Regions from separate parts of the Homo sapiens genome. Here region 2 is linked to region 1. Evidence: promoter capture Hi-C in 16 types of primary human blood cells and fetal thymus (Javierre and others, 2016). All regions are on one chromosome and are shown on one strand. The core of a region is centred on a gene start or on the middle of the fragment in contact, and the rest is flanking DNA. Distances in the headings are between cores, read along the strand shown.

Evidence for each region. Contacts are between HindIII fragments. The CHiCAGO score rates a contact against its expected background, and 5 or more counts as called.
Region 2: a fragment that was not itself captured here is called in contact with the fragment with the promoter of BCL9 in region 1 in 2 of 17 cell types (fetal thymus and naive CD4 T cells); the score reaches 5.3 in fetal thymus.

Annotation. Positions count from the first base shown.
Region 1 is chr1:147,539,153-147,543,172 of GRCh38, forward strand. It overlaps BCL9 (BCL9 transcription coactivator), which reads left to right and starts at 2,349. Exons shown (of 10, transcript NM_004326.4): 1 at 2,349-2,522. RefSeq lists enhancers at 2,007-2,301, 2,020-2,774, 2,335-2,394. The HindIII fragment of the contact is 5,169 bases long and covers 2,258-4,020 here.
Region 2 is chr1:147,681,067-147,685,146 of GRCh38, forward strand. No RefSeq gene overlaps it. Among named protein-coding and RNA genes, the nearest start is that of ACP6, 13 kb to the left of the region's middle. The HindIII fragment of the contact is 577 bases long and covers 1,914-2,490 here.

The DNA.
Region 1 (4,020 bases), core at 1,099-3,598:
GTTAAGTCGACCCTTTATGCAATTCTTGCCTGGGAGGCCTCATTGTGTATAGTGAGTCACCACCACTTAGAAGTGGACAGTGAGTCAGTAGCCTATTAAGGGGAGGTCAGAAGTTCCCCTGGCTCAAAATGAAAGGATCCAAACCCAACCCTGGGGTACAGAAAAAACAGTGTACTTATATGGCTGACTGGACTTGAAGTGCCATGGAGTACCTGGACTACTCCAGTGAGAAGGCATAATATGGCGGGTAAACGCTGGGGCTTTAGAATCACACAGGCCTCAGTTGGATTTCAGCTCTACCTCTGCCTTGCTGTGTGACCTCAGACAAGTTGCTTAACCTCTCTGTGCCTCGTTTTTCTATCATCTGTAAATGGAAATGATCATAACAAAAATTACTTCATGATACAAATGAGTGGGAAAATGCTAAGAATCAAGTAAATACTTAAAAAAAGGTTATTATTATTATTATTATATTACCACATCATCATCATTAATGGGAGTCGGGACAGACAGTTCAGGGATCAGGGATAATGGAGGAGCAAATTAAGGGGGAAAATAACAGGAACAAGTCTGTGTCTTTGATGTGGTGAGTTTTAGGTAGTGACACCTCATTTAGCTGGTGTTAAGTATGAAAGAAGTCATAATTTATTCTTTACTGCATACCTATGAAGGAATGAGTGATGTGTGTTCTCATAATTTCCATTTTGTAAAGGAAGATTCTGAGGAATAGAGTCTAAACAATCTTCATGAAAAAGTACAGAACTGATTCAGCAGCAGTTAGGAGCTAAGCTTCCATTCAGATCCTGTTGCATAGGGATAACTCTTCTGGCCTAGGCAGAGGAGACCTTGTTAGGTCTGTGAGTCCACAGTATCTAAAAATATGAATGTCATATAATCATCCTGTCATTCTTCTTCCTGATCTCAATTGGCCCTCCTGATTTCATGCCATCTGCAAATTTGCACATCCTTTGTGCTCCTTTTTGCTCACATTTTATGCCTTCTTTTACCATCTCATTTACTCTGCATGTTTCAATCTTTCTGGGCTTCCATTTTTCTTCTTTTTTTAATGCAGTGTTGTTTCTCTCTCTCTCTCTCTCTCTCTCTCTCTCTCTCCACTCCTTTACAGCCCCCACCTCCTCCCTCCACACCAATCAAATTCCTGCTTGTTTCTTGCCATATTCATTATCCTACCTCATTCCCCTCTTATTCCTAGAAAACAGCACACTCACCCTCCCCTCCTCCAACTCTCAGGCCCACCCTCCATAAATTCCAGCAGCCTGGCAATCAGTAACTTTAGCATCACACTTCACAGCTCTCCTAGTTTACACTACTTGTTACTACTCTCCTTGCTACTGCTCTCTAGGGTTTCTGCTAAAATAAAAAATAAAAAAAAATAAAAAAAGCTTCACTTTAAAAATATCTTGGGTACAAGTTGAACCTACAGTTAAGTTTACTCACACATTTACACATTTCATGATTTTATTTTAACTAGTAGCTCAAGTCCATGCTCAATTATGCAGTGAAAGAAGGCTAGATCCTTAGGAAACAAATTTTTCTCTATTGTAAAGAAGAAAAATCACCTAACCACTCAACAGAAACCCCAGTCCTGGGGCCACTCACCCTCTTATCTCCCTACTCCCCCAATCTCCAGCTAATGGGACTTTGCTTTTTCCTTTGTCGGGTCATTTATTTCACTTTTCCTGGCGCTGAGATGGCCTGAGTCTGTGTATGTGTGCACACGTGTGTGGCCACTGCTTTTCTTCCAAAGGACTCACCTCTCTTCTGCCATTTTACTAGGACACAGGAGGCGGCTCTCTGCTCTCGCTCTCCCTCTCTTTTTCTCCCTGCCCCCAACTCAGCCTGGGCTTTTTCCTGTCTCTTAACTCCACCAGTGCAGCAGCAACTAGCTGAGCTGCTTGAGAGAGAGAGAGAAGAGAGAGAGAGAGAAGAGAGAGAGAGAGAGAGAGGAGAGAGAGAGAGAGAGAGAGAGAGAGAGAGAGAGAGAGAGAGAGAGAGAGAGAGAGAGTGTGTGTGTGTGTGTGTGTGTGTGTGTGTGTGTGTGTGTGTGTGCCTGCGTGCGCAGCTAGGCCAAGCCTGCGAGCCTGCCTGTCACTGGAGAGTTTTAGTTTGCATTCAGAAGAAAGGAGGAGGGGAGACAAGAGGGGAGGAGGAAAAGGTGGAGGGGGGAGGAGTGGGGGGGCGCAGAGAAGGGAGGGAGAATGTCTTGTTTGTGGCTTGTCAGCAATTGCTTGAGACAAGCTTCCATGTGTGAAAGCTACTTGGCATGAATGCCTGGGCCGTACCAAGTGTCACCGCAGCAAGAGGGGGAGTCAGAAGAAAAACAGATCAGACCAGAGCAGACAATAGGCCCCTAAAGTGTTCCCCCTAAGTTGCTTTGATGTTGTCCTGGTGTCTTGATACCAGGAGGCCAGGGATTGCGGGAAAAGGGTCTTTTTTGTCTTCATTCACTTTCCCCCCTCAGTTTCTGAAATGATTCTCCAGAATTTCTCCTCATAAAAAAGGTAAGAGCCCTAACAATTCCTTCTTCGGTGGCAGGCTTGTTCGCCTGTGCCTGGAAGTGGGGGTCTCATTCCTGCGCTGCTCTGGAGGAGCGCTGGGGTCCTGCGATTGGAGCTCCTGCGTTGCCCCTGGAAGTCTTTCAAGGCATCCAGGACTGGGGATGGCCCCTCTTTCGAGGGAACCCCAGTAACACGATCTGTGCCTCTGGGTTGGTGGGGGAGAAGGGGTGGATGGAGAGGGCTGGGAGGAGGGTGTGAGGGTGGGAGGGAAAAGAGAGAGAGAGAGGGAGCGCGAGAGAGGGAAGCCTGGAAAAGAGGGAGAGAAGGGCAGAGCCTTGGTTCAGGGAAACCCCAGCCCAGAGCCCAGGGAGGCCTTGCAGGCTCCGAGCTGTGCATTCTCAGGCTGAGCAAGGGCCGGCCAGGGCTCCGCCGAGTGACTGCAGAGATTGCATCGAGCTTTGTGTGTGCCAGTGTGCCCGTGGGTCTGTGTGTGCGTGTGGACTTCCCACACACTGCCCTGGCGTGCCTCGCTGTGAAGGGGAGGCACCCCGATCCTTACCACCCCAGCCCAGACTCTCCGAGGAGGAGCGGCATGGCAGGCAAGAAGGGAGAGCAAGAGAACTCTGCCACAAGACGATCCAGAAACTTTTCCAGTCTCAGGGATTCCTCTGGTCGTAGAGACTGTTGAGTTGTGGGGTGCCCCGTGCCTCAATTTCCCCATCTGTAAAATCAAGGTTGCTGATCAGGGATGCTGTATGCCTCCCTGGGATTGAGCGAAACAGAACAGATCACTGTGTCTGAAACGCGTGGAGAAATCGTCAGCTAGAGATGCTGTGGAATCACAGAGTAGAAGTGTTATCATTATTCTTGATCATCATCATCAGGGTAATAAAAACATCATTAAAGACACCCTGAGACAAATAGACTGAGGAGCACAGATCAAGTGTCTGAGCATTTCTAAGGAAACAAAAAGCCTTGTTCCACCTGTTGGCTTCTGTCCTTTTTCTCTTGTGTCTTTTCGTTAGATTTATTGGCCGATTTGTACAGAGAATGGGGTGGGAGGGGTTGGGTTTTCCCCTTTCCTCCTCCTTGTACGTATTTTTGTTTTAAAGAAGGTCAATGTAAGATGCTTGAGCGAGAAAATGTGCCTCCTGGTATAGTAGTTTATTCAAGACCTTGTGTTTTCTGGGGCTGGCAGGGCATGCAGACGCATCTGTAAACTCTACCTTGGAGGTTAAAGATTTTTATTGTGGCTTTTAGAGATTAAATGAGATTTATTTACAATTGCTGTTTATCAGAGAGTAAATATCTTACTGTGTGTGTACGAGGCTAAGAATGTGAAGGCTGTTTACTCGCCGGTGGTTTTGTGGATAAAACCTTTTGCTTTTTCAAGTGACATCTTGAGGGATGGAACAGAGGGCTAAAATCAGTGCCTAACATTCATCTTAACAATTTTTTTTGAGGAAAAAAAATGTCTGCTTATTTTCTTGAATTGTGGATT
Region 2 (4,080 bases), core at 952-3,451, 140 kb after region 1:
GGCCTGCCAAGCCCACGCCCACCCAGAACTCCAGCTGGCCCGCAAGCGCAGCGCACAGCGCCGGTTCCCGCTGGCGCCTCTCCCTCCACACCTCCCTGCAAGCTGAGGGAGCCGGCTCCGGCCTTGGCCAGCCCAGAAAGGGGCTCCCACAGTGCAGCGGTGCGCTGAAGGGCTCCTCAAGTGCGGCCAAAGTGGGAGCCCAGGCAGAGGAGGCACTGAGAGCGAGCGAGGGCTGTGAGGACTGCCAGCATGCTGTCACCTCTCACTGACACCAGGCCAGATCCTACATTCCCAGGCTCCAGGTCTGCTCCCCAGTCTCAATCTCCAAGCCAACCCTAACATCCCTATGCTCCAGTCTGACCCAACCTCTAGCTGGCCCCCATGCCTCAGGCTTTGAGCTCACTATAGTGCCAGGCCAGCCCTCACAGATCAGGCTCCAGGCCTACCCTGAAGATTCCATCTTCAGGTTTACTCCAGGGTCAGACCAGTCCCAGTGGTCTCAGGCTCTGGATGCCCCCCAACCCAGCATCAGGCTGGGCCCCATAGCATCAGGCTTCATGCCTATCTCAGAACTAGGCCAACCCCTACAGCCCTAATCATCAGGCCAGCACTCAGCCTTCAGGCTGGCCTGCAGATATAGGTTCCAGGCCTGCCCAGGATAAGGCTAGCTCCTGCAGCTCCAAGCTACAGGCCCGCGCTAGTTTAAGGTCAGCCCAAAGCCACATCAGCCCACACAGCCTGATGCCTTAGGCCCATCTCAGTGCCAGGTCAGTACATCTCAGGCACAAGGCTGATACCACAGACACAGGTTTCAGTCCTGCCTAGTGCCAGGCTGATCCCTGTGGCCCCACACTCCAGGCTGGCCCCTGCAGTCCCATGTTCCAGCAGATGTAAGGGCCAGATTTGTCCCAGCTGACCTCAGTGCTAAGCTGACCCTCATGGACCTAGGTTCCAGGACTACTCCTAAATACCCAGGTTCTAGGCCAGCCCCCATAGACCCAAAACTCCATGAACTCAGGATACAGGTCTACCCCAGTGTCAGGTCAGTCCCCATGGACACAGGCTCTGGGCTTATCCTAGTGGACCCAGTCTCCGACCCATTCCATGGCCTAGCCAGCCCCTACAGACTCAGGCTTAAGGCTCACCCTAGTTTCAGATCAGCTACTATGGAACCAGGCTTCAGGCCACCCCCAATGGATATAGGCTCTAGATCTGCCCTTGGACCTAGGCTCCAGGCTCACCTCTGCAGACCCAATCAATACATCTACCTCAGTGGATCCAGGATCCAAGCTCAATCTTATGAACCCAGGCACCAGGTCTTCCCACTTGCGAACCCAGGCACAAGGCCCACTCACCCAAGGACACCAGCAGCAAGTACGCCAACAGGCCACGCTAGATGGACTGCCCAGAATCTCTGGACATGCTGACTGGTGAAGGATTTCCCAAACAAACCTAGTTTGCAAAGACTGGAATAAGTCTCCACTTCTTAAAATAAGCAGACACCAGCAAATGGCCACAAAGATCAAGAATAATCAGAGAAACATGTCATCACCAATGGAAGAAAATAAAACATGAGTAACTGACACTAAAGAAATGGAGATATATAAACTGCCTGATAAATAATTCAAAATAATAGTTGTATAGCAAACTTCAATAAAATACAGAGAAATAATTCATTGAAATCAAGAAAACAATAAATGACCAAAACAAGAAATTTAACAGAGATTGAAATTATGAAAAAGTAACCAAATTCTGGAGCTGAAAAATACAATGAATTAAATTATAAAATGCAATAGAGAGCATTGACAGCAGAATTGATAAACAGAAGAAAGAACCTCCAAACTCAAAGACAATTATTTGAAAATATGCAACAAGAAGAGAAAAAGGAAAAAAGAATGAAAAGGAATGATGAAAGCTTATGGGATTTATGGAACAGTATCAAAAAAGCAAATGTTCAAGTTATAGGAGTTAAAGTAGAAGAAAGAGAGAGAGAAATTTATGTTTATTTAAAGAAATAATAACAGAAAATAAATTAAATCTGAGAAAGAAATATCCAGGTACAGGAAGGTCAAAGGACTCTGATTAGACTCAAGCCAAACAAGACTGCAAGACATATTACAATCAAACTGTCAAAAATCAAAAATAAAAAGAAGACACTGAAAACAGGAAGAGGAAAGAAGCAAATCATCTATAAAGGAATTCCTAAAAGTCTATCAGTGGATTCCTCAGCAGAAACACTGCAGGCCAAGAAATATTGGGATAATATATTAAAAGTGCTGAAGGGAAAAAAAAACCCTATCAACCAAAAATACTATACCCAGCAAAGCTGTCCTTCAGAAATAAAAGAATGATGAAAACTTTTCCAGGTAAACAAAAGCTGAGTGAGTTCATTCCACATGATCTGTCTTACAGGAAATGCTAAAGGGAATTCTTCATGCAGAGCAAAAAGGATGCTAATTATTAATAGTAACACAACATATGAAAGAATAAAGCTTACTGGTAAAATTAAGTACACAGTCAAATTCAGAACACTATAAAACTGTGATGGTGGTATGTAAATCACTTATATCTTTAGTATGAATGTTAAAAAACAAGTATTAAAAATAATAATAGTCACAATAATTTTTAAGGGATATACAGTATAAAAAATGTAAATTGTGACCTCAAAAACAGAATGTGGGAGTGGATAAAGTAAAAGTGTAGTTATTTTATGTAGTTAACATTAACTTCTTATTAGCTTAAAATTGCCTGTTATGACTATAAGATGTTTTATGTAAGCCTCTTGGTAGCCACAAAGCAAAAAATTATAGTAGATACATAAAAGATAAAAAGGAATCAAAGCATACCATTGGAGAAAATCATCTAATCACAAAAGAAGACATCAAGGGAGAAAAAAGAAACAAAGGATCTATAAAACAACCAGAAAACAATTAATAAAATGGAAGTAGTAAGTTTTTACCTATCGTTAATTACCTTGAATGTAAATGGAGTAAATTACCCAATCAAAAGACATAGAGTGGCTGAATGGATAAGAAAAGAAGACCAAATATACACACCCTACAAGAAACTCACTTCACCTGTAAGGACACACATGAATTGAAAGTAAAGGGATGGAAAAAAATATTCCATGCGAATGGAAGCCAAAAGAGAGTGAGAGTAGCTATACTTATATCAGATAAAATAGACTTTAAGTCAAAAGCTGTAAAAGGAGACAATGAAAGTCAATATACAATAATAAAACGGTCATCAAATATGTAACAATTGTAAATATGTATGTTCCAACATTGGAGCACCTAAATATATAAGGCAAATATATTAATAAATCTGAAGAGAGAGATGGATTGCAATACAGTAATAGCAGGGGACTTAAATACCCTACTTTCAACAATGGATAGATCATCCAGGCAGAAAATCAATAAGGAAACATTGAACTTGAACTACACTTTAGACCAAATGGACCTAATAGATGTTTATAGAATATTCCGTACAATAGCAGCAGAACACACATTCTTCTCAAGTGCATTGCAATATTCTCCAGGATAGATCATATGTTTGGCTATAAAACATGTCTTAGCAAATTTAAGAGGATAGAAGCATATCAAGTAGCTTTTCCAATGACAATGGTATGAAACTAGAAATCAGTAAGAGAAGAAATTTCAGAAAATTCACAAATATGTGGAAATTAAGCAACATGCTTCTAAATAACCAATTGGTCAAAGAAGAAATTAAAATAGAAATTGAAAAATATCTCGAGACAAATGAAAATGGACATGCAATATACCAAAATTTATAGATACAGCAAAAGCAGTTCAAAGAGGGACTTTTATGGCAATAAATGCCTACATCAAAAAAGAAGAAATACATAACCTAATGTTACACCTCAAGGAACTACAAAGAAAAAGAATAAACCAATCCCAAAATTAGTAAAAGGAAGGAAATGATCAGATCAGAAATAAATGAAATAGAGACTAGAAAACAATGGAAAAGATAAACTAAGAGCTGGTTTTTTGCAAACAGAAAAGAAACTAACAAACCATTAGCTAGACTAGCTAAGATAAAAAGACTCAAATAAATAGAATT